5 separate regions of the Homo sapiens genome follow, and all the other regions are linked to region 1. Evidence: promoter capture Hi-C in 16 types of primary human blood cells and fetal thymus (Javierre and others, 2016). All regions are on one chromosome and are shown on one strand. Each heading gives the region's core, a stretch centred on a gene start or on the middle of the fragment in contact. The rest is flanking DNA. Distances are from core to core; before and after follow the strand shown. Region 1 holds the start of PDGFRL (platelet derived growth factor receptor like). Region 2 holds the start of PCM1 (pericentriolar material 1). Region 3 holds the start of LOC124901893 (a long non-coding RNA gene). Region 4 overlaps FGL1 (fibrinogen like 1). Region 5 overlaps MTMR7 (myotubularin related protein 7).

What was found. Contacts are between HindIII fragments. The CHiCAGO score rates a contact against its expected background, and 5 or more counts as called.
Region 2: a contact is called between the fragment with the promoter of PCM1 here and the fragment with the promoter of PDGFRL in region 1, in 7 of 17 cell types (naive CD8 T cells, total CD8 T cells, activated CD4 T cells and 4 more). The highest score is 9.5, in naive CD8 T cells.
Region 3: a contact is called between a fragment that was not itself captured here and the fragment with the promoter of PDGFRL in region 1, in 1 of 17 cell types (endothelial precursors). The highest score is 6.6, in endothelial precursors.
Region 4: a fragment that was not itself captured here is called in contact with the fragment with the promoter of PDGFRL in region 1 in 1 of 17 cell types (total CD4 T cells); the score reaches 5.1 in total CD4 T cells.
Region 5: a contact is called between a fragment that was not itself captured here and the fragment with the promoter of PDGFRL in region 1, in 1 of 17 cell types (endothelial precursors). The highest score is 6.1, in endothelial precursors.

Annotation. Positions count from the first base shown.
Region 1 is chr8:17,574,864-17,579,993 of GRCh38, forward strand. PDGFRL (platelet derived growth factor receptor like) reads left to right here and starts at 2,353. Exons shown (of 6, transcript NM_001372073.1): 1 at 2,353-2,444. The coding sequence starts at 2,390. RefSeq lists silencers at 2,559-2,618, 2,709-2,758. The HindIII fragment of the contact is 7,010 bases long and covers 424-5,130 here.
Region 2 is chr8:17,919,467-17,924,966 of GRCh38, forward strand. It overlaps PCM1 (pericentriolar material 1), which reads left to right and starts at 3,522. Exons shown (of 39, transcript NM_006197.4): 1 at 3,522-3,722; 2 at 5,247-5,314. LOC124901867 reads right to left here. Exons shown (of 4, transcript XM_047422505.1): 1 at 5,448-5,500; 2 at 4,691-4,761; 3 at 4,043-4,300; 4 at 1,562-3,880. The coding sequence ends at 3,198. RefSeq lists silencers at 714-1,008, 3,734-4,028 and enhancers at 2,890-3,339, 4,490-4,549. The HindIII fragment of the contact is 6,694 bases long and covers 1-5,500 here.
Region 3 is chr8:17,859,612-17,864,408 of GRCh38, forward strand. It overlaps FGL1 (fibrinogen like 1), which reads right to left. Exons shown (of 8, transcript NM_004467.4): 8 at 4,778-4,797. LOC124901893 (a long non-coding RNA gene) reads left to right here and starts at 857. Exons shown (of 2, transcript XR_007060835.1): 1 at 857-1,157; 2 at 1,347-1,458. The HindIII fragment of the contact is 1,253 bases long and covers 2,301-3,553 here.
Region 4 is chr8:17,886,051-17,890,799 of GRCh38, forward strand. All of the region lies in intron 1 of FGL1 (fibrinogen like 1), which reads right to left. Among named protein-coding and RNA genes, the nearest start is that of FGL1, 7.1 kb to the right of the region's middle. The HindIII fragment of the contact is 1,999 bases long and covers 2,284-4,282 here.
Region 5 is chr8:17,313,150-17,317,920 of GRCh38, forward strand. MTMR7 (myotubularin related protein 7) reads right to left here. Exons shown (of 14, transcript NM_004686.5): 8 at 143-252. It also overlaps a transcript of VPS37A not described here. Among named protein-coding and RNA genes, the nearest start is that of VPS37A, 69 kb to the left of the region's middle. The HindIII fragment of the contact is 2,218 bases long and covers 1,921-4,138 here.

The DNA.
Region 1 (5,130 bases), core at 1,103-3,602:
ATAGCTACGTGTCTTGGGAAGCCCTTATACTTCTTATGAATTCTGTTCCCATCTTAATACAGACCCCTGTATTAATTTGCTGGGGCTACCATAGCAAAGAACCACAGAGTGCGTGGTTTAAAGAACAGAAATGTATTCTCTTATAGTTCTGAATGGCAGAAATCTGAGAGCAAGGTGGCAGAAGAATGGGTATTCTCTGAGGCCTCTCTTCTTTGCTTTTATTTATTTATTTATTATTTATTTATTTTGAGACAGTCTCTCTCTGTCGCCCAGGCTGGAGTGCAGTGGTGCCATCTCAGCTCACTGCAACCTCGCTTCCCAGGCTCAAATGACTCTCTCGCCTCAGCCCCCCAAGAAGAGCCTCTAAGCGGCAAGAGAAAGAGGGACGACTCTCGGCTAAATGTAGCTGAGCCAGGGCAGTGAAGCTTGACAATAATGGCACAAGAGAGGTGGACCTGGCACATGCATAGTCAGCATGGAGGGGATACTGCGACCGAGAGGAGGAATCTAGACCCAACCCCAGGCTCCAACATGGAGTGAGAGTTAAGCAGTCAATTCATGGGGTCAGAATGAAAAGAAATCTCACGGTGGGGCAATTTAGGCAGATTTACTCTCTCCTGTGTGCATGCTCCAAGTCCTTTGCTCAGAATTCTCCCCAGAACCTGACACACCACATTGCAGTGGTCTAAATGCTTGTTCACTCCTTAAAAGTAGCCATGAGAGATGATGTCTCAACCTTCATAGCCGTAATGTTAATCACATAGCAAACTCCTGTTGAAATAATCACCTAGTTCCCTTTCTTAATAAACAAGAGATGCTAAAACCCAGAAGGTTAAGTGAATTCTGAGAGGCATGGAGAGTTTGTGCCAGTGTCAGCATCTGAACTCTGGTCTTTATTCCCAGCCAACTGCTCTCTGCATCGCAAGGCAAGCGAGTGGCAAAGCTCCGGCTAGAGCTGGCAACAGAATATAGAATTCTTGGTTCCTCCTGCAGAAGTGACTGAGAAGCATTAGTTTGTTATAAATGGCAGCACTTCTTTCGTTGGGTGTTGAGGGACAAGTCCCTTTCCTGTTATTTAGAATTGAGCTCCCTTTAATAGCAGTGCCTGGTGCTGAAGATTACAATGAGATGGGCTGCTTCTCACCGGGGGAACACACACAGGCATCTCCCCCGCTAGCAAACTGCTTTGATCATGAGAGTCTGCAAGCTCAGAAACGCAGGATGGCTCTCTGCAGAGGGACTTGTGAAAGCCCGTATCTTCTGCCCCACTGTTACCTGATAGAGTTGTCCAGGTTCTTGGCCTGTTGAACAAAAAATTGAACGAAATGCACGGAGTAACGAAAGAAAGAAGCAAGGAAAAACAAAGCAACAGAAGGGAGGAAGGAAAACGTAGATTTATAGAAGACAATTCACAGAGGGCGCTGCAGCAAGCCACAAGAGCCTGACGCTCCCCAGGGATTTTATAAAGCGAAAAGAACTTGGCAACACCCTTGGGTTCCCTTTAGAGGCCTCCAACTGGTTACACCTTACGAAGGACTGGCCTGCGACCAGTCCGAGGCTGAAGTGGAAACTTCTGCCTTGTTATCAGAGGAGCGAGGATGTGGCCTGTGTGCCGCCTAATCATGCCTAGAACTGTCTGCACCTGCTGATCTTTTGCTTCTGCGAACTGGCTGCACCTGCTGTTCTCCTGCTCATACCCTAGCCCGTGCTTACCCTAATTCCCTGTTCTCCTGCCTCACCACCAGAGGCCCGGGTTGTCTGCACAGTCTCATTTTCCACGTTATTCCTGTAATGAACCCGTCCTCCCACCCCCACCAGCAGTTACAGGGCTGGGTGCGGAGACCAACTCTGGCCAGACACAGAGGAGCAGCAAGAACCCGGGGCAACGGTCCTGTGAGTGAGTGCATGTGGGGGAGAGAAATGGAATGAACAGAAATAATTTAGGAAGCACTTTTTACAGAGCACTCAGGTTCTGCCTGAGGAGGTGGGGCGGGCGCTGGTAACATTTGGACAATCGTGGTTAAAAGTGACCCCATCAGCACCCGCTGATCCTTCTTGAACTTGATAACCTTGGTGAAAACGCCAAGCGTTGGAGAAATTCAAGGAATGGCTGTTGTAATGTACATTTCACGCTTAGCCTTTCCTCCCCGCGCTGGGAAGAAGTGCTGCGCACCGCGGCTCCGCCAGGGGGCAGGAGAAGTCACATTACACAGAGAACTAAAAAAAAAAAAAATTCCCCAACTTTTTCCCCCAAACCTTGTTCCTCCTGAAGAAACCGAATCCTCCCGCTTCGGCGTCCCAGGAGCCCGCCCCTCGCCCGCCGCCTCCCCTGCGTCCCCGCCCCGCGCAGCCGCCGCGCTCCTGCGCTCCGAGGTCCGAGGTTCCCGAGATGAAGGTCTGGCTGCTGCTTGGTCTTCTGCTGGTGCACGAAGCGCTGGAGGATGGTGAGTGACTCTGGGCGCGGGGCCACCTAGCTTGTGCCCTGACTTTAGCCGGGACCCGAAGCCCCCGCCGCCCTCCTGCCAGCTCTTGGTCTAACGTTCGGCCCTCGGTGGCTCAGCCCCCGCGCCACTGCCTGCCCGGTGCACCTGCCCCCTCCTGGTGGGGTCTCCTTTCCTCCCACTCTTTGCCTGCCCGGAGAGCCCTCTAGGGGTGGTGGCAGCTACCCCGACCCTTAGGAGCCCACCAGGACCTCTCCAAGTCCCCATCTCCGGGCGAACCAAGCATCCCCAGCCAGCGCCTGGTCCAGCCCCCAGTGTCAACGTGTCGGTCTGGGAGGTGGGGCGGGAGCCTCGGATCGCTTCCACCTCCCAGCGGCGTGGCTGGGACCTCTGCTGCTGAGAGCGAGTGCCACCTAAGCTCGGCAATCGCTGATTCGGTTGCAGAGTTCCAGGTGACCTCCCCCTCCCCTCGCAGTTCTGGGCGTGTTTTCGTCTACCACCTTTTGCTTGAATCCTGCAAGATCTGCCTAGATCTTCGAACAAAAATGTCAGTGTATGAAACTTCAAAACGAATCAAAAGCCCACGGCTTATTATATTTATCTAATTGGATGGGAAATGGTGAAGAAAATGCATTTTTTTGGTACAGCTTATGGGACCATGACCGCTGCGCGTTTTTGAATGTGTACCTGTCCTGGGTCCACCCTGTCGTGTACACCCGTGACCACAGGGTCTGGTGTTATTTTTCTGTGTGTCTGGGTGTGTGTATTACTGTGGTGTGTATTATATATTATTGTTAGCATTTAAATGTTTTGTTTGCTCTATTCACTCCATGGGTGTTATTTGTACAGTACATGTTTCATCTGGGTGCCTCCTGGTGTCCTCAACCCTCTCTTGAAATTCCTGGGCTACAACACAATTTTTGCTTAGATTTAGTGGAAAAGTAGCTTTTGCTGTTATGCAACTTCATGCTGGAGCCAGCTCGACCTGGCTCACATTTTTATCCACTCGTTCATCCTGACCAGTTCCTTTCTTTCCTAGGAAACTACATTTGCCAAAAAAATACCGCATTGTAGTTTGCAAAATCCAAGATAGTCGTGGTACTTGAAGTTGAGCATGAGGGTCCTTCAGCCTAGAGCTTTGCTTAATAAAACGTAGGCAGAGCTTCTACTGGGAGAGTAACACTTAACTCTGCCCAGAGAGAAGTTGCCATGAGTTCAGTTTGTAAAATGCAATATTAAAATGCTCCTGGCAGGCCCTTGTGTGCAACCGCTGAAAAGGCAGAAATGTAATTTGTAGTATCATTTTTTGAATAGGGCAGGAGATGGCCAGGCAAAATAATTTCAAATCAGCCATTCCTTTGTTTATACCCAACTTGCCAGTCTTAGAGGCTCAGAAATTGACTTCCATTCTGCCTCCTGGATCTCACCCAGCCCATGTGAGTTTATTACAAACATCTGACTAAATTTACCCTTTCTTTAAGTGTAATCCATACAAACAATAAGCATTTATGAGACAATTGGAGAAAGTGGAATACAGACTGAATGTAAGAAATAGTTCATAAATTTTAGGTGATAATAGCACGAAGATTTTGTTTATAAAAGTACACACATCTGGCCGGGCACAGTGGCTCATGCCTGTAATCCCAGCACTTTGGGAGGCCAAGGCAGGTGGATCACAAGGTCAGGAGTTCAAGACCAGCCTGGCCAAGATGGTGAAACCCCGTCTCTACTAAAAATATAAAAATTAGCCGGGCGTGGTGGTGGGCACGTGTAATCCCAGCTACTTGGGAGGGTGAGGCAGAGAACTGCTTGAACCTGGGAGGCAGAGGTTGCAGTGAGCCGAGATCGCACCACTGCACTCCAGCTGGGCGACAAAGTGAGACTCCATCTCAAGAAAATAAAGATAAAAATAAAAGCACACATATCTATAATGTATGGACTATTTATGGATACAATAGTGAACACACAGTGCTTCATTAAGTTATGTAACCGTTTGGCTAAACCTATTAAGAATGGTTTTTGGTTTTGAGTTGTGTTGTGAGTTGTGGCCAGGAGCTACTAAGGAGAGTGGATTACACAGGAGGCCCTTCCAGTGCTGGTCTCAGATTGGCAGGTTGGGAATATCCTGCCTTCAAGGCCATCCCAAAGCACAAATTACAGACACAAGGTCCATGACTCAACTTGTTTCACTGCCTTTTAGTTTTTCTGATCACATCTAAAAGACAGTCTTTATTATTATTTTATTATTATTGTTATTATTATTATTATTATTATTATTATTGAGATGGAGTCTTGCTATGTCACCCAGGTGGAGTGCAGTGGCACAATCTTAGCTCACTGCGACTTCCACTTGTGCTAGCCACCACAACTAGCCAAAGACAGCCTTCTAAGAGGAAAAGACTTCCCTGCAAGTGTGTATGGGGGTGAACATCTGGCCTGTGACCCAATGAAGCTGGCTGCTCCCAATGACAAAATGCTTTAAATTTTTGGAAGTAATGTTCTTTCTCCTCATGAAGATGGGGAGCTGGAAAGGCACATAATACTTCATGGCATGAAACTGAGGGATGAAAACAGGTAATAAATAATCCAAGATTCCACGTTGAGATGTCAATCATAGCACCTGATTTTCAGCATTTATATGGAATACATGCCACCGAGTTTATTAATAGGGTGCTTCTATTTTCACATT
Region 2 (5,500 bases), core at 2,272-4,771, 350 kb after region 1:
TCAAAAAATCACATAATAAAAACAAATAACATGCAGTTATAAAGTAGTGGATTTGTCCCTGAAGATTTTTCCTTTAAGTTCTGTCACCATCTGCAGGTTAAAACTAGGTATTGCAGAAAACTTGTTTTTCAAAGATTAAAAAGTACAAACGGCTGGATTTCTGTTACAGACATGCTTACAATCCATCTGTGGATAAGGAGCATACAGAATACATTAAAGAGATAAACATTATAGCACCAAGTGTTTTGTTTTTTTTTTGAGACAGAGTCTCGCTCAGGCTGGAATGCAATGGTGTGACCTGGGCTCACTGCAACCTCCACCTCCTAGGTTCAAGCAATTCTCCTGCCTCAGCCTCCTGAGTAGCTGGGATTATAGTCACATGCCATCACACCCGGCTAATTTTTGTATTTTTAGTAGAGACGGGGTTTCACTATGTTGGTCAGGCTGGTCTCGAACTCCTGACATCATGATCCACGCGCCTCGGCCTCCCAAAGTGCTGGGATTACAGGCATGAGCCACCGTGCCCGGCTGTGTTATCTTATAAGTACCACCTGGTTAGTGTCCTACCAAATATCAAGAAACAGAAATAGTATTTTCACATCATAACAACTGATTTAGTTTATGTGAATAAAAATTTAAATCCCTTACTTTATTCATCCTGCTACTACCTTAGGCCAAGCCTTCATTACTTCATGACAGGTTGGCACCTGTTCTCCTTGTCTTCTTTTCCTAGTCTTTACAAAACATTGCCACTAGATTGAAGTCTTCAAATAACCATTTCATTACAGCATTGACCTCTTCCAAAGTCTCAAATGGTTTCACACTAACTGAAGAACAAAGTCCACACTCTTTAGATAAGTAGTTGACTTTCTATAGTTTGGCCCCAACCTGGTAATAAACCTTGCCTTCTCCCACCTCCCCATCACTTACCATATATAAATCCTCTACTTCAGCCAGTCTGTTTTTTGTCCATTGCTTACTCTGGATGTGTGATCTGTGTTCTTGGTATATCCCACTTCCTTGAACATCATTCTGCAATTTGGAACTTCCACCCCCTGCATATTTAATACATGTGTTAGGTTGTTCTCTTGAATGTGGAAAACTGAAAGGCAGTTTCAATGTTTATCTCTTAGAGGCCATTCTTCTGTTTCCTATCTACATTTCCACAGACTGCTGCCCCTAATTTCATCCTACCTATAAATCCTAGAGCTATCATTATCTCTGAGACAAAACATCCCTATTTTAAAAATCTAAATTACCACAGCAATCAGTGTCTACATCATTTGTTTGGCATAGTGACGGACTATTAACACTAAGTCGATTCATTCTGATAAAGTTTGTTTCTAAAAATAGATGTTAAATTTCTGAAAGCCAGGTATAATTTTATCGCTTCTTGTTTTTTTTCTTTCCTTCTTCCCTTACAAAGATCAGTAATGCTCATATTTGAGTTTGAGATCCCCTTTTCAATGTAAATATTTCTCAAATTCCTCTTACCTCCCAACAAACAATAGTATTGACATTCTGGGGCTTCATAAATTCAGAAAACATCATGACTAGTAGATATTATAATTTCATGCTTTTGAATTTATTAGAATTGTTTTAATGATAACAGCTTCTACATTTCAATGTAAATATTTCTCAAATTCCTCCTACCTCCTAATAAACAATAGTATTGACATTCTGGAGCTTCATAAATTCAGAAAACATAATGACTAGTACGTATTATAATTTCACGCTTTTGAATTTATTAGAATTGTTTTAATGATAACAGCTTCTACATACGTTTAATAATAATACATATGTATAAAGCAAAATAATGATGATAGCTAATATTTCGGGCCTCAACATATACTAGTGTTTTTATATGCGTTGTATTTAATTAAAAAAAATCTTAAAGGAATCACATAGACCTCCGTTTAAATTTAGGCTCTACCACTTGCAGCTGCTACAAGTTTGATTTATATAATCTTTCATTGCCAAAACGGGTCAGATTCAGAACCAGCCTCTTCAGGGTAACTGTGAGGATCAAGAAAATCACAACAGCCGAAGTGCTTTACAGTGTGCCTGGCATAAAACAAACTCTGAGAACATTTTTTAAAAAATCCTTTCAAGGTAGGCAGTATCATTCCTTCCCCCTCATTTCATAGATGGGGCAATTAAGGCTCAGAAAGGCACGTCGCTTGTCCAGGATCTTGGAGTGGTGGAATTAGGATAGGGCATTCTGGACTACAATAAACACCTGAGCGTTTAGCTGCTGTGTTCTGAGCTCCCACAGCACTTTTTCTTACAACACAAACTTTATTTACATCACACTCCACTTCCGCATCCTTCACTAAAATATGAGCTCTTCAAGGGCAGGGACTATATTTTTGCTACCGCAGTAGTTAGCGATACACACACAGAATATGAGGAAAAAGTGTCTGACCAACGATCAATGCACTCACGACTGAACCTACGGTGGCAGATTGCAGTGGGATAGAAGAGCTTTATGTGAATTGCGTACTGAGATGCAGACCTACTATTTTGGGAACAATTTGTTTTTGTTGTTGAAACCCAGAATGCAATTCTTCTTTTTACCTTTATTTTGCTTAAAAAGTTATTCCATAATTATAAACTGCGTAAAACTAGAAGAATGCCCTTGCACTCAACTAAAACTGACAGGTGTTTTACCTTTCCAGTCAGGCACATTGAAGGCCTTGTGACTTTATTGATTTTTGTTTTTTAAAGGGAGGACCTGCCAATTTATTAATCTTAATAGAGCTGTAACAGGAGAGTATAAATAAAAAGATAGTTCAGAGAAAATTTACTGAAATTAAGTTTGGATTAAAATCATCTGGCTCTTTTAAGGAAAAGGGACATTAACCAAAAGTGGCGTTAACTATCAACAATATTTATGATTCTCTCACTCAGTAGATACATAATGACGTCTGGCAAATTGTTTAACTTCCGTGGAACAATCCCCTCATATGTAAAATCAGGAGGTTGGACTACATTGTAAGTGTCCTTTTGTTTCCACCTCTTCGTGACCGAATGTGGGGTGAGGAAGGGGCAAAAAAGCGATCCCGGTCTTGGCTCCTTCTTCCGGCACGGGCCGGAGCTGACACCCCCACGGAAAACCGCACAGCGCCTCCGCTCTTTCTCCACGGGCTGAGGGATCAATGCACTTCCGCATAGGCCTAGGGCCCCACGCTCCGCGATCAGCGCCGGAAGCGCACGGCATGCTGGGATTTGTAGTCCTCCACCTGTGGCCGGCAGGCGTTTAGAACGCGAGGTCTAGTTGGCATTCTGGGATACATAGTTCCTGGGCGGGTGGGGGCGGATTCGTTGGTGTAATCTCTTTTCGGCTTAAAGAGCCAGAAGCGACACCACAGACTCCGGCGGGTCACATGACTCCAGTCTAGCTCGCATTGCGGCTCCCGCCCGGGCGAGTTCTCGCCCCCGCGCGGCCGTTGCCGAGGAGACGGCGCATGTCCCGCCGCGCGTTGCCCCCTCTGCAGTACCCCCGCCCCTCTTCTCCCACCACAATGAGATCCTAAGATGGCGGTGGCTGCGGCGGTTGGCGCTGCGTAGCTGAGGTCGAAAAGGCGGCCACTGGGGCCGAGGCAGCCAGGAAACGTGTGGGCCTCTCTGCTGCGGTCTCCGAGGGCCGACCGCTGCCGGCGGCGGGTCGTGGGGGCTGACTGTCGCTCTGCCTTTGACAGGAGAGGCTGCTTCTTGTAGAGGTAATGCCTGCGCGTCCCCAGCCCTTGGCAACCTAGGGCGGCGCGCCCCAGAGGCGGGAGAGTAACGGCTCCGGGACACTCGGCCCTGTTGGGTCTGGCCACGGGCCCACGCCTCCTCTGTAGGTTCCCGGGTCTTCCTGCCCCGGGCTTCCCGTGCCCTAGGCGGTCAGTCCGCCCGCTCCCTCAGGACTGATCGCCGGGATCCCCGGGTGAGCACCTCGCGACGCGTTGGTGATTGCAGGACTCCCTTCTTGCCTCCTCGCCCCTCCTGCTGGCCCTGTCGGGGAGGCTGTTCTGCGTCCCGGTGGCTCCGGCTATACCCCTTGCGGGCGGAGGAAGCGGAGCGGGGACTCTGGTTTGGGTGCTAGGGGCACTGGGTCGAGTTCTTAGAGAAACAGGCCTTGGTGGCCATAGTTCTTCCCCGCGTTCCCTCTGTGGAACTCTCGGTGTCCAGAGTTTGGGGTGTAGAAGGGCGGATGAGGAGCGACGCGACTCTGAAGAGTTGCAGTTGGGCTGTGAGCTGCAGGATTTCCGCCGTCTCTGGTGCTGTGGGAGCCGATGGGCCGGGGGAGGCGTTCCTGGGAAGGTTAATGGAGTAATTATTGCCCCTTCTTTCTCCCTTCCTACCTATCTAGTTAGAATTGGGCCTAGAACCGGGAAAGACTAAATGCCAAGTGGGACTGGGGGAAACGTTGTTTGGTTTACAGAAACTGGCGTTTGGGGATTAGGCCCCGCCAGGGAGGCTGGGCGCGCCAACTTTGCATCCCTCAGCCTACTCCCCAGGAACTCGCCTGGTTTAATTTTTTTTGTTTTGTTTTGTTTTTTTGAGCGAGTTGAGGTCTGTATTGTGTGTCTTACGGGTGACGGTTCGTGTTTGGGCGCTGGAAGGAGCGGGCTTTCTGGGCGCCCCTACCACCCCCGCCCCATAACCGCTTTCCAGACTCCGCCTGCTGGTGTTCTCTGGTTACCGGAGTGGGTGTTGCAGAGCCTCGGGTGCACCTGCTCCTTTCTTTCCCTAGCACCTTCCTGGTGAGGACCCCTGAACACCAATATAATACAGAGTTTTTGAATTGAAGGTAAACCTGGTATTTATGTAGTGACGAGGTTATTTTATTATGAAGTACAGTAGCTTTTAAATGAGCAAACATTTTTAAAATCATCGGATATACGAGGTTGTTACATAGTTTGAGTAACAGGAAGCTCGATCAATCAGAGGAGTAAACTTTGGCATAGACTATTAAAGGATAGTTAGGGCTAACCATCTTTGTTACACTGTTCCGAAATAGATATCACTTTGCTGTTTGGTAAGATTTCAGAAGTTTAGGGGATTTAAGCATTTATGCATATCACACTATTTTCCAAAAGAATTGAGGTAACTTAAATTTAAAATATGAATAAGTTATATTTTTCCCCTTCTTTTGATCTTTCTAAACATACTTTAGACCAAAACTGAAGTATTTTTTATTCTGTATTTCATAGCGTAAGTAATTTACTTAAGTGATACATATTTTTAATCCTAATTAGGAAACAGCTTTGAAGTGTGGAGCGGGAAAGGAGCAGTTTCTGAGCTGCAAAAACTAGTTTCTAAACAGGTAATTTGACATTATTATCTGTATTATCCTTTGTATTAGAGTTGGAGAAGACTTTATGGTGGACACTGCTGTCACAGTTACAGTGCATGACTGAGGATCCTCTCTGCTTAGTAAACAAACTTTCTGGGTTCACCGCCCTGTTTGCTCTGCTTTTCGGCGTGCTGCTTTGGCCTGCCGGTATATCTT
Region 3 (4,797 bases), core at 1,677-4,176, 290 kb after region 1:
CTCAAGTGGTCCGGCTACCTCGGCCTCCCAAAGTGTTGAGTTTACAGGCATGAGCCACCGCGTCTGGCCAATATATATAATTGTAAAGTGTCTAATAATGGCATTTAAAAAGTACAAATACAGAGATCTAATTAGTTTTAGTAATATATTTTATTTAGCCTCATCCATCCAAAGTATTATTTAACAATGTAATCAACATAAAAATTATTCTTATTTGTGGAGGTATTTTCTCTTTTTCTGGGATACTATGTCTTCAAAATCCATTGTGTATTTTATACTTATAGCTCATCTGAATAAGGACTAGCCTTATTTCAAGTAAGCAGGAGTCACATGTGATTGGTGGCTGCTGTATTCACAGCGCAGCTTGATAGCAATTTAGCTTCAGGACTTTTGTTTTTGTTTTTGAAATGAACTAAATTGCCAAACCTACATGTAATATACCAGATACACTCATGTCCTTAATGTTATTTGATTTGTTTCTTTAGGACGAACAACCTATTTTATTCACTTTGTTTATATAAAAAGTATTATTCTTAAATATGTACTATGCACATATGATAAAACATTTCACAACATTAAATGGTAGGAAATATAAAAAGGAGTGTCCTTTCATTGCGTCTCCAAGCCCAGTCCCCTGAGGTAACCACTATCACATAAAATGCAGATTTTTTCCACATATATATGAGATATGTATATCTTTTTTAAGTATCAATGAGGATATAACTTACTTTTCATAGTCCTGATAAAATACCAACAAAAACTTTGCTATGTGCATAAGATTATATAGGATATCTTCATGTGTCAATTCTTTTTTTCTTTTTTTTTTTTTTTTTGAGGTAGAGTCTTACGCTGTCACCCAAGCTGGAGTGCAATGGCACAATCTCGGCTCACTGCAACCTCCACCTCCCGGGTTCAAGTGATTCTCCTGCCTCAGCCCCCCGAGCAGCTGGGATTACAAGCGTGTGCCACCACACCGGGCTAATTTTTGTATTTTTAGTAGAGACGGGGTTTCACCATGTTGACCAGGCTGGTCTCGAACTCCTGACCTCAGGTGATCCGACCGCCTTGGCCTCCCAAAGTACTGGGATTACAGGCGTGAGCCACTGCGCCTGGCCCTTGTAAATTCTTTACTAGCAATGAGGAAAGAAAAAGCAAAAGTAAGTATCTGGGATCTTAAATTTGATACTATTTTTAGACACTGATTTTGTAGGATCCAATATTTTGATATTCATAGAAATAACCAGTGGCCATAAGTTCTGTAATATCAAATGAAGTAGCACTCTTCTATGAACTATACACTTTACATTCATTATATGGTTTCTTTTTTTACTTATTTCCTCAATCAGTCAGTCAACGAACATTCGAGATCCTGTCATGTGTCAGACACTGTGCGGAGAGCTGGAGATAAAACTGTCAACAAGATGAATGCAGCCTCTAAAATAAAGAGTTTCTAATCCAGTGGATTCTCTGTTCATGCTTCTTGCACTTTCTCTACACTTTGCTCTATCAAAAAAAAAAAAATTCAAAACACTCACGAGTTTGTTGACCTTAAAGTGGAATCAGCTGATACAAATTAAAAGCATTTTGCATTTCAAAAAGTGATAAAGTCTAATAAATAGCTCACTAATGGTGAAATTTCAGAGACATTTATTTTAGGCTGGGGTCTTCCTAATTCAGAAAAAATCAGTCCAGTTTCCCTATTTTACATCCAAACTCCTCAAATGACCAATCTCTATTCTCTCTCTTTTTTATTTTTTGGATGAGTCTCTCACTCTGTCGCCCAGGCTGGAGTGTAGTGGCACAGTCTCGGCTCCCTGCAACCTCCACCTCCCCAGTTCAAGCGATTCTTCTGCCTCAGCCTCCCGAGTAGCTGGGACTACAGGTATGCATCATGATGCCCAGCTAATTTTTGTATTTTTAGTAGAGATTGGGTTTCACCATGTTGACCAGGCTGGTCTCAAACTCCTGACCTCAAGTGATCCACCCACCTAGGCTTCCCAAAGTGTTGGGATTACAAGCGTGAGCCACTGCTCCAGGCCCCAATCTATTCTCTCTAACTGCTTTTATTTCCTGGCCTAGAGCTCCCTACCATTCCACTGAAACGGATTTAATAACACAAATAGCATTATCACTAAGTCCGAAGATATTTCATTAGAACTTCTCTTCCATTATTTTATGGCATTTTAAATTTTTAAAATCACTCCTTCTGCATTGAAAAACTATCATACTGAGGTTTGACGCCATAATTTGTTTAGCTCCCCTCCCACTTCTCTGTGGAATCATTTTTTTTCTCCTTTAAAAGCTTTTCTTCTTTTGATCTCCTAATTGTGTGAGTTCTTCAGGCTACTACTTGAGCAATTAAGCCCATATTTAAAATTGTCACTGATGATCCATTATTTATAGCTTACCAACGTGTGTTTTATGGAACACTGTTCCCACAAGACCACATTGAAAAACAATCAAGAACCCTGGCAAACATTTCTCCTTTGCCTGCACATTCTACAGAGATCATAAAAATAAATATTCTTTCTCCTGATCATACTTCCAGACAGAGTGAACATATGATACAATTCTGACCAACAAGGCATAACTGAAGTCTGTTGACCCTTCGCTTTTCTTACTGCTTTCAACACGAACTCAAAGCAGGAACCGTGGTAGATAATTTGCAATTTTGAAGGATGGGCTAAATGAATTGCAGGGTCATCAGCCTCCACGCTGCACTGAACATAGGTCAGCAACCACTTACCTCCTGAGTTCTCACTACGTAAGATGAAGAAATCTTTATTTGTTTGGACTTCCGTAGTCAGGCAATTTATACCTCGCACCAGAACATACTCTTAATTAGATATAAAAATGCTACATACTATATGTCCTTCTTGGAGCTTCAGAACGCACATTAGAAAAATTAGAGAACTGAGAAATTCCCAAGAGAAGAAACCTGTGGAATTCTGCTGAATTTGTCATCTCCTAAATTTATTTGATCAGGCAGCCCTTTTCTTCTTTCTGTACTGAACTACCAATGTCTCACAGAACTATGGCTCTCTAGCTTTTTGCTTTTCAAAGTGTAATTTCTAGACCAGCAGTATCTGCATTGTCTGGAAACTTCTTAGAAAACCCAAATATTAGGCCCCATCCTGGAAGCAGAGTTACATTTTAACAGGATCTTCAGTTGGTTTGTATGACACTAAAGACTGAGAAGTGCCGCTTGGGAAACACTGATTTAGAGAATAAAGTACAACTAACCTTAATATCCTTATGTGGCCTATGATTTCAAGGGCCTCTATATCATTACTGTCCCTTAATGCCTACTTCACAAGTCAACACACCTAGTTCTTATTGAATGCTTACTTTGTGCGAGGCACTATGCCAAGTGCTATAGTTTTATAATTCTCAAAGCACCCCTATGAGGCAGGTACTATTGTAATCGTTACCTTGTAGATGAGATAGCTAGGGCTCAGAGAAGTTAAGTTGCCTACCCAACGTCACATAGCCATTAAGTGGCAGAATCCTTGGCTTAAGGATTTAAGGATCACTCAACTATATTGGCTTTCTAAGCTTTTGTTCCCAAGCACTTTCCTGCTCTGTGTACTTAACACACATGATTCCCTCTGCCTGCAATATCTCCCCACGTACACCTTCTTAAAAGGTCTCAGCTCAAAAAGTCAGTTGTTCTGGGAAGCTTTTCTGATCTCCTACCCCAAAGCCAGGTCAGATCCTCCTGGTAAACATTCCCCAGGCACATATCTTTACTTCATACATATCAGCTTTTATAATTATGTATATTTTGTGATTCTATGATTAGTGTATGTGTTTACCAAAAAACTAAGCTCCGTGTGGGCTTTAACTGTATCCTCTGTGCCTGACACACAGTTGACACACAAATATTTTTTAGAGTATCTTTTTTTTTTTTTTTCTTGAGATGGCTTCTCGCTTTGTTGGCCAGGTCGGAGTGCAGGTTGGCACGATCTCAGCTCACTACAACCTCTGCTTCCTGGGTTTAAGCAATTCTCCTGCCTCAGCCTCCCGAGTAGCTGGGATTACAGGCTCACACCACCACGCCCAGCTAATTTTTGTATTTTTAGTAGAGATGGGTTTTCATCATGTTGGCCAGGCTGGTCTCAGACTCCTGGCCTCAAGTGGTCCACCTGCCTCAGCCTCCCAGAGTGCTGGGATTACAGGCGTGAGCCACCGTGCCCAGCCTTTTGGAGTATCTTTTACTCTCATTTGAAACGTTCTCTCCCTATTCTGCACCAATCCAAGTTCTACCCAGAAGAAGCTATAGGATGGTGGCAAGATATTTGATTTAGCATCAGAAGACTTGGATTTGAGGCCTTGTTCCCCTACTTTGTAACTTGGAGCAGTCACAAAAACTCAGACCCACTGATTCTCAGCTCTGTTAAATGGACATAATAATAACCTCACAGGATTGGCATAAGAATTAAAATGAGCCCTGTGAGAGAAGTGTATAACCTACATAAACTTCCTAAAAATACGAGTAGCGTTTTGTAGTGATTAAGATCCTGGGTTGTGCTTAAAAGTTTCCACTCTGTAATCCAAAACCTGAGTTCAAATCCCAACTCATAATATTTATTGTCTCTGCGGTTGATTCGGCAATCCATTATTTGCTGGATTTTGTCATGTGTTTTGCCAATTGCATTCATAATTTATTATGCATTTATGCTTGTATCTCCTAAGTCATGGTATATAATCCATGCTTTTTATGTTTTGTCTGACATAAGCTCTTATCAGAGCCCTTTGCACACAGGGATTCAATAAATATTAACACAGTCTACATTT
Region 4 (4,749 bases), core at 2,033-4,532, 310 kb after region 1:
GTAAGATTTTTGAAAGCAAAGGTCACACCTTGCTAATTTTGGTATCCCTAGCATTTAATTCTTGTGGTGACCCCAATAACTGTTGTTGCTTCTACGGAATTATTCCTCAGGAGGCAAAATCGTTCTCAGAGGGAAAAATGTAATTTCCTTGCTTTAAACTACAGTCTGTTTATACTGACATACTTTCCTCTTTTACTGGAAAACAATGGGCTAAGTATAGTTTTGAAGGTAAGAGTTAAGAAGGAGTTGGGGACTTTTGGTTTGATTGAACACATGAATTTAATTTTTTCCTTCTCACAAAGCCCACTAGAAAATGAGTGAAGAAAAAGTTTAAAAGATGCGAACTGACAAAGTCAAAGAGAAAGGGAAAGAACAGCTAGTGTGCAATGTCAGCAAGTTGGTAGATGATAAAAAGGCATGTGGGGGGCCTGGTGCGGTGGCTCACGCCTGTAATCCCAGCACTTTGGGAGGTCGAGGTGGGCAGATCACTCGAGGTCAGGAGCTCGAGACCAGCCTGGTCAACATGGCGAAACCCTGTCTCTACTAAAAATACAAAAATTAGCCAGGCGTGGTGGTGGGCGCCTGTACTCCCAGCCACTCGGGAGGCTGAGGCAGGAGAATTGCTTGAACCCGGGAGATGGAGGTTGCAGTGAGCCGAGATCGTGCCAATGCACTCCAGCCTGGGTGACAGAGTGAGTCCCTGTCTAGAAAGAAACGAAATGAGAGGAGAAGAGAGGAGAGGAGAGGAGAGGAGAGGAGAGAAGAGAAGTAGGGGAATTGGCAAAGCAGCAGTAGAGAGGAGCACCATGAGAAGCGAGAGAAGTCACAGTGTAGCACCCTAGGGGATTCTGGATTGGAGGCACTGCTAGCTTGGAAGTGAAGGTAGAGGCAAATGGGCTAACAGTCAGATCCTCATCTAAATCCTGTGCAGCCAGGTGAATGCTGCTTCTCGTACCCTTTCAGAATATGGAAGATTTACTTTCTATTAAGATTGCCCAGAGATGCTCCAGGTGACATGACAGCAGAAGTGCTGGAGGGGAGGAGAGAGACCCTGTTCAAAAAGGGTGAGGCTTTCCCAGGCTTCTTCTCTTGCAGCCAGGCAACCGGCTCTACACTCTTCCTACCACTTTCCAGGCCAAAGAACATAGGATTCCTCGCTGGAGGAACAGCAGAGCTTCACCGAAAAGATCTTCAGAGACTGACATTGGAGGATTCTCCATCAAAGGAGGCTTTTCCTTGACTGATCGCTCTCCAAAGAATCCCACCAGTTGGGAAGCCTCCTTCATGCACCTGGGAGAGGTATAAAAGGTATAGGCACACTATTCTGCTTATTTCTTTCAACGTAAGTCTTCTTTCTGAAGAGAGGCATATTTTACATTTCATTCTCTGTCCACATCAAATGGTCTAAAGAGAAACACCAAATTTCTGTATTACAACACTGGGCAGAAATTCATATGATAGCAATTAGTCATGACTTAACCCTTTCACCCAACACTGTGAACAAAATAACCAAGATGGGCCGGGCGTGTTGGCTCACACCTGTAATCCCAGCACTTCGAGAGGCCGAGGCGGGCGGATCACTGAGGCCAGCATGGCCAACATAGTGAAACCCTGTCTCTATAAAAATACAAAAAATTAGCTAGGTGTGGTGGTGGGTGCCTGTAATCCCAGCAAATTGGGAGGCTGAGGCAGGAGAATTGCTTGAACCTGGGAGGTGGAGGTTGCAGTGAGCCGAGATCACGCCACTGCACTCCAGCCCAGGTGACAGTGCGAGACTCCATCTCAAAAAAAAAAAAAAGTATCTCTAGACCCATTTTTCCATTAAAGTTATCCTTTTAAACATATGATATAATTTGTAGCAACAATTTATAAGAACTCTGGCATTTCACTCTTTATTTTATCTTAGTAAATATTTTTTCTTTAAAATTCAATTGTATATTGAGTATGTACCTATCTTAGGCCCAGTGATAGAAATAGTAGTCTTAGGCCCAGTGATAGAAATAGTAATCTTAGGCCCAGTAATAGAAATAGTAGATGTTTTTATATGTAATGTATTAAATATAATTGATTATATTAAAATATTTGCTTATGTTAAAAATAGAGAAAATTAACTTTCTGATATTTAAAACATTTACCAATGTGAAAAAGAGACACCCTCTGTGTATTTTTATAAAAGATAAAATGGGGTGAGAATAGGATTGCAAAGGAACAGAAGTCGTGACCAAATTAGAAGAAAAGATGATTAGGTTTGCTATCAATTAATATTCGCTAATTAATATAATAAGCTTGGAATTATTTAAGGAACACTTTTCTAGGTCACATTTATTATTGTCATGAAAGGTAAAATCATTTTCTTTAAGATAAAAACATTGACTGCACTAAAGAGTCATCATTTGCAATGCAGTAGTGTCCTAAATCTCTTATTCCCAGATGTCAAGATTATGTCTACAAATTAAGAAAATTTCAAGTTGAAATAAGTATTCTAAACCGAAGACATCTGATGTTAGGAGCAAATACATTTTCATTCCGATCCTGGGGGTAGTTTCATGTTTTCTTTTGTTTTTCTTTTTTTGTCTGAGGGTCCTTGGGAACACTCCTTATTCATTGTGGCTGAATTTTTTCAACATCAGCATTGAATACTACAAAGGATTGTATCAGATATAAATCAATAGTCAATAATTTTATTAAGAAGTAAAAACCATCCATTTAAACTGAATTACAGTGGGAAAATATATTTGTAAAGAAGGCTTAGAAAATAAACAATAACAATAAACTAGAATGAGATTATTTCAAGCATATATTTTCTAACTATTCGTAGGTAAAGTTTTAAAAATTGAATGGATTCTAGTCCTCTAATCCCTGTCACTAGAAAATGACTGACCTACAGCATGCTTTAGTATCTTTTCTTCACAATAAGAGAATAATATTTTAATAATGACACACAATAATTGCTAAACAGGCTTGATGGGACAGTAAGCGTAGTTCCACAAAGATGCCAAGCAGCCTGCGTGGCCTGGGGCATTATATAAAAATGAGCTAGCCATTCAAGTAGAATGTACCTCTGCAAGGCTGCAATATTACTTACATTAAAGGGCCCATCATCAAGGGGACAAGGGCTATTTCCCCAAGTCTAACGTGGATTGGAAAAATAAGGAATACTCATCTGAAACCATATTGTGTTTGTGTTTGGGCATCACTAAACACTCTGCCGAACTTTGGCTGGGCGTGGTGGCTTACGCCTGTAATCTCAGCACTTTGGGAGGACGAAGTGGGAGGATCGCCAGAGGCCAGGAGTTCAAGACCAGCCTGGCCAACATGATAAAACTCCATCGCTACTAAAAATACAAAAATTAGCCAGGTGTGGTGGTGCACACCTGTAATCCCAGCTACTCGGGAGGCTGAAGCATGAGAATCACTTGAACCTGGGAGGCGGAGGTTGCAGTGAGCTGAGATTGTCTCACTGTAGTTAAGCCTGGGTGACAGAGCGACACTCCACCTCAAACAACAACAACACTATCAAAACACTATCAAATTTTAATTGGCCATTTTATTTTATTTCATTAGCCTCACAGTGAAAATAAGAAAACAAGCACAAGGATGCTTATGATTTCTCCAGGACCATTCAGCCTCTGGGGATATCCCCTGGGAATATCTCCCAAATCTCCTGAACCTCTTTCTTTATTGCCTGGTTAATCCTTTCTTACTGTATTATGTTGAACTATAAGAAATGGCAGATGTTTGAACATTTCTGACTTAGAAAAATGGCAATTTCATTGTTTCAAATTAATGCATATTGTTTAGATAGGAAGAACACACTTGAAAATCATTATAACCATTTATACTACAATGAATACCAAAAAAATAGGTTCAAAATATACTGTTTGCAGCTTACTTGATCAGAGAGAGAACAAATTGGCAAGAACCTGTTTTTATATCAATGCTGCCTCCCATGTTAATACATTAATGTGTGCCATTTAAAATATGTTTACAAAATTGCTAATACATCATCAACACATGAAATCTCACGATGTCTTTAGAAGACACATTATGTTTACTTTTTACTAAAGGAAGCTCAAATAGTGAAGCAAAGTAACTTTCCTAAGGAAAGACTCTACGTTCAAAATTTATACAACATCCAATCATTTCTCACCACCTCTATTGCTAATGTCTGGCCCAAGCTACCAATGGAAGATTCCAAACAATTTTTTAGAATTACAATGAGACAACATTCTATACTGAGCCTTTCCTGGGCAAACCGGGATATTTGGTCATTCACCGACAAAGCTTTACATAATCTGTGAGCATCCACCTCCTCAACACATCTCTTTTCCCATCATTTTTGCCTGTTCTGGCTACATTGGCCTCTTTGGCATTTTTGGAAAACCCTGAAATACACAGACTTCTCAGGGCGATTGCACTTGCTGTTCTCTCTACCTGGAATGCTCTTCTGAAAATCTCTGTGGTTTGCTCCATGACATCCTTCAGGTCTTTGCTCAGGTATTCCCTTCCCAGAGATACCTTCCCTGACTACCACATATAAAATAACAGCTGTCCCCTACTGTCTTAGTCCATTCTCATTTTATAAATTTACCCAGTAAAGATCTGCCTGAGACTGGGTAATTTATAAAGGAAAAAGGTTTAATTGACTCACAGTTTGCCATGACTGGGGAGGCCCCAGGAAACTTACAGTCGTGGTGGAAGGGGAAGCAAACATGTCCTTCTTCACATGATGGCAGGAAGGGGAAGAGC
Region 5 (4,771 bases), core at 1,780-4,279, 260 kb before region 1:
AGACTACGGAGCTCTACAAAGCTGGCTATCCAGTCAGTGCAGTGCAGCTTAAGACAGGGAAGCCCATGGCAGAGGGATACCCATTTTGAAGTCAGTGGTTTGCTCATCTGTCCCTTAATTTATTTTCTCTGCAATTGCATACCTTTGCAATGAAGATTCCTGCATCCATTATGGCTTTAATGTGCCTTAACCAGCCAGAGTTCTCCAGACCCCACAGGAAATCACTCATGGAGGGAGATTTAAGTTCACACACTGCAAGATAAATCATGTTATAAAAGCAAAATTAAGGTACTCTCTCATTTTACATATGATCATGTTTTATAGGTAGTTTGTTAATGATTCCTTTGTTGTATTAGGTATTTTCTGGAAGCAAGCCTTAAGTCAAAATAAATACCCACGTTTACTAAACTTGATTCTATGGAACCATTTCAAGTAAGGCTTTTCTACCTTCTCTGGTCACAGGGAATGCTGCACTTGTTTACAAGTATTATATATATGTAAGGTTGAAATCCTAATATTAATGAAAATCATTAAGAGTTCTGGCAGAAAATATCGATTTGCCTTTCCAGCAAAGTAATTAAAAATGGGCCACTAAGGAATATGAATTGGGAGTGCTATGAGGAAAAAAATCATATAACTAAGTGTAGCACCTACCCACTTAGAAGTTTCTGTCACCCAACCACTTCAGATTAGGACTGTTGTAAAAACACAAGACAGAGCGATCCTAAATTTCTTAAATGAAAATGATCAAACTCCTCTTGCCAATAACCCCCACCCAATGGGAGTAAGGCCTGTAAGCTTAAAAATAACACATATGCCTCTGATCCAATTCTAGAGCATCAGGGTAGAGGCTTTCCCTTTGAGTGAAAATGAAGAAAACCTAGGATCCCAGTGGTATCTATATTTACACAACTAAGGCAGGTGTATAAACACCTCTATAATATTATAAACCACCAACTTTCACCTCAGGAGCTTCTTTTATTTAACGTAAAGCATTAAAAAGCTTCAGAGCTAGTGTTCTGAGTACATATCACAAATACGGCAATCCAAAGTGGAGGTTTAGACCTATAAAGCCCTATTGAGGAGTCTTATCAATCAACCAATGAAATTCAATCAAGAAATCATAGATTTCTTTTTATTTTATTGTTCTCTGTGATGCAGTAAACACACATAGGGAAAAGGGAGCCCATTTTTCTACCCCCAACTCCATGGGCAATGAGCTGTGTAGTCTTGCACATGTTATTCCAGTCTCTGAGCCTCAATTTCTTCATTTTTAAAATGGGGAAGGTGTATAAATTATATCCTTCCAACTGTAAACCCCCAGATTCAACTTTGTGAACTCTTTGAAAGCACTGTGCATATGGGTCACATAGCAGCATTAACAAAAATATTAATTTATCAGATGCCCTGCCTCCAAGAATGCAGATAAGAGGATTCACTGTGATTTCCTGCAGCATAAAAGCCACACACAAAAAAGCACAAGTAGTTAAATTCTGAGTCATAGATGACAACAGTGTTGAAGGAAATAACACCAAAATTCCCAGCAAAACACCCAACCTAAGAAAAACATATTATGAATATGTTCAGGCAAGATTCCAAAATCTTCCTTCCAAATGCCTGCCCTGAGCTAGAAGCACAGCTCTGAAGACCTGATATGCAGTCGGTGAAGGGACAGCCCTTTGAATTCGCTCTGGTTCAGAGCACTACCTTTCTAAGGTCACAGTGTTGCCCCTTGCACACCTCAGGCCCAGCATCACAGGCAGGAAGACACTATGTGTCTGATAAAGTACATGCAGAACGGTAAATGAGAGGGTGCTTAGTGGAAGGCCAGTGAAAAATACACACAATGATTCACAGAATCTATGGCTATATATTAGCCCTGTGGCCCTTGGGTAGTCAGCCGTGGGCTGAGAGTTCCCAAGCTTACAGTTTTAATCATTAAAAGTTATACAATATTTAAACATATGAAGTTTAAAATGTAGTATGTCCTGACAATGAAATACTGTTCAGTGATAAAAGGAGATGAGCTATGAAAAGACACAGAGGGAAGTTAAATGCACAGTGCTAAGGGAAAGAAGCCAACTTTTCCTTGAAAAGGCTACATATTATATGATGTCAACTATATGACCTCCTAGAAAAGGCAAAACTACGGAGACAGTAAAAAAATCAGCGGCTGCCAGGGGTTAGGGTTGTGAGGGAAATAAATAGGTGGGGCACAAGAATGTTTAGGGCAGAAAACTACGACAGTGGTTACATTTATTAAACGTGTCAAAACCCACAGAATGTCCAACAGCAAGAGGGAACCGTACAGTGGACTTTGAGTGATACCGATGTGCCAATGTAGGTGCACTGATCACAACAATGTACCACTCCGTCGGGGATGTGAATAATGCAGGTGGCTGTGCATGTGTGCAGGCAGGGCTAGCTGGGACTCTCCGTACCTTCTGCTCAATTTTGCTGTGAATCTAAAACTGCTCTTAAAAAGAAAAAGTCTTTAAAAACATGATAATGTAACAGACATCCAGATTGGCCACAACTGCTCCAGATGTCTCTTAAGAAAAAAAAACAAAACAGAAAAAAGGCTGGGCACAGTGCCTCACACCTGTAATCCCAGCACTTTGAGAGGCCAAGTCAGAAGGATCATTTGAGTCAAGGAGTTCAAGAACAGCCTATATAAAGTAGTGAGACTCAGGCTCTACAAAAAAGAGAAAAAATGAGCGAGACTGAGTGGCACATGCCTACTGTCCCAGCTACTTGGGAGGCTGAGTTGAGAGGATCACTTCAACCCAGGAGTTTGAGGCTGCAGTGAGCTATGATCTTGCCACTGCACTCCATCCTGGGTGATGACAGAGCCAGATCCTATCTCTAAAAAATAAAGTTACAAATAAAGTCTCGTGTTTTCGTGTCATCCTGCTTCTTTCCTATGAAGATTGTTAATATTCCCAAGAACTTTTTGTCCTTTCACTACTTACATACTAGCTATGTGGGCTTGGGCAGATTACTTAGCCTCTCTGTCCTTCAGTTTCCTCAACTGTAAAATGGTAATAATAGCCTCTGTATCAAACTGTTATTATTTATGTTAGCCCTTATTACTATTATTCTCAAATAATATATATATTTTATAGGTACTAAAATTTACATATATATTATAGTCTGCAATTTTTATCCAACTTTTTTTAGATATCCATATTATGTAAATAAATTTCATTAATTTTAACAGCTATATAATATTCCACTCTATATCTTAAATTATTTATCCATCCCCCTACTGTTGACAGTTGTTCCCTCCTTTTCAATATTTACAAACAGTACAGTAAAAAAAAAAAAAAACCTTTCTACAGTCTCCTTGTGGAAAGTCTCCCTGTACCTGGATTTCTATAAGTGAAATGGGCTGGGTCATAGAGTTCCTAAGTCTTCAGCTCTATCATGCACAGTTGGCCCTCTGTATTCTCGGGTTCCACATCCTTGGAGTCAACCAACCACAGAGCACAAATATTTGAAAAAAATAAAAATAACAATACAACAAAAAATAATGGTAATAGAAAACCAATCCAGTGTAACGACTATTTACACAGCACCTACATTGTATTAAGTATTGCAAGTAATCTAGAGATGATTTTAAATATATGGGAGGATGTGCATAGGCTATATGCAAATACACCATGTTATTATGTAAGGGACTTCTGCGTGTGTGGATTTGAGAATCTATGGGGGCTGGGGTGGGGGTGCTGGAAACAATTCTCCTTGGATACTGAGGGATGACTCTACTGCCAAATTGCTCTTGAAAAGGGCTGCAGTGGTTTATGCTCTCACCAGTAGGTTGGGAAAGTTCCTTTTCCCATATCCCAACTAATACTTGGTAATGCTGATGCTTTAAGTTTTGCCAATCTTATAATATTTCTCTAAGAATATTAATGGCAGTTTTTGTTTTCTTCTCTGAATGTTGTTTTCCAGACTTTTTAGAATTTGCTTGCTTATATGTGTGTGTGTTGTGGGGGTGTGGTCTCTGTCCTGCATGTTGAGCTTTCCTCAGTTTTCTGCTAATTTTTGCCTATCCATTCACATGTAAGAGCAAGACACAGGATGCTGGCTGGCAGTGCCGTGTGCCGTGTGCATGGGCAGGCTTTCTTAGCTGCCAAGCTTTGCTATGGGGGATTTGGCCAATGTAACATCTGCGAGTCCTTTGTCTTCGATGTTTGTAGGCCCCGGCATGGAATCTTCTGAACACCTGAGTGCATCACGTTGGATGCCAGTGTCCTAAGAGGACAGCTGGGGCAGTAACCATGGGTCTCATTCTTCCATACTTACACTTTCACTTAACCCCTGTTTTTGGCCTGGAATTCCCCATCCCCTCTTCCAGCTTTGCCTGGTACTCCTGATCCCAGAGTCCCTGCGGTCAACGTTTCCAGAAAGGTTGACTTTCCAGAAAGTGTATCACCATCTTCTCTTGTGGAAGTGTGGAAAGAGGCTTCACTAGGCAGTGCAGGGGAGGAAGGAGGCTGGGACCCAATGAACTGCTTCTCGTGCAAACATTCGGCTACTACTCGTTTCAGAGATACCTGATGGCTCGAATTCCAGAGATTGTCTAAGGATCTGCACTTCTATTTAGCTTACTTTGGGGTTTCTCATACTTCCGCCATAAATTGCAGCTTTTTTTTCTAGTCTGTGGCATTACTTATCACTCATCCATTTATTTTGCAGCTTTTATATTTTTGTTTCCATGACCTCCTCTTTCAATCTCCCGTCCTTCTGTATTTTTGCCTTTTTTTCC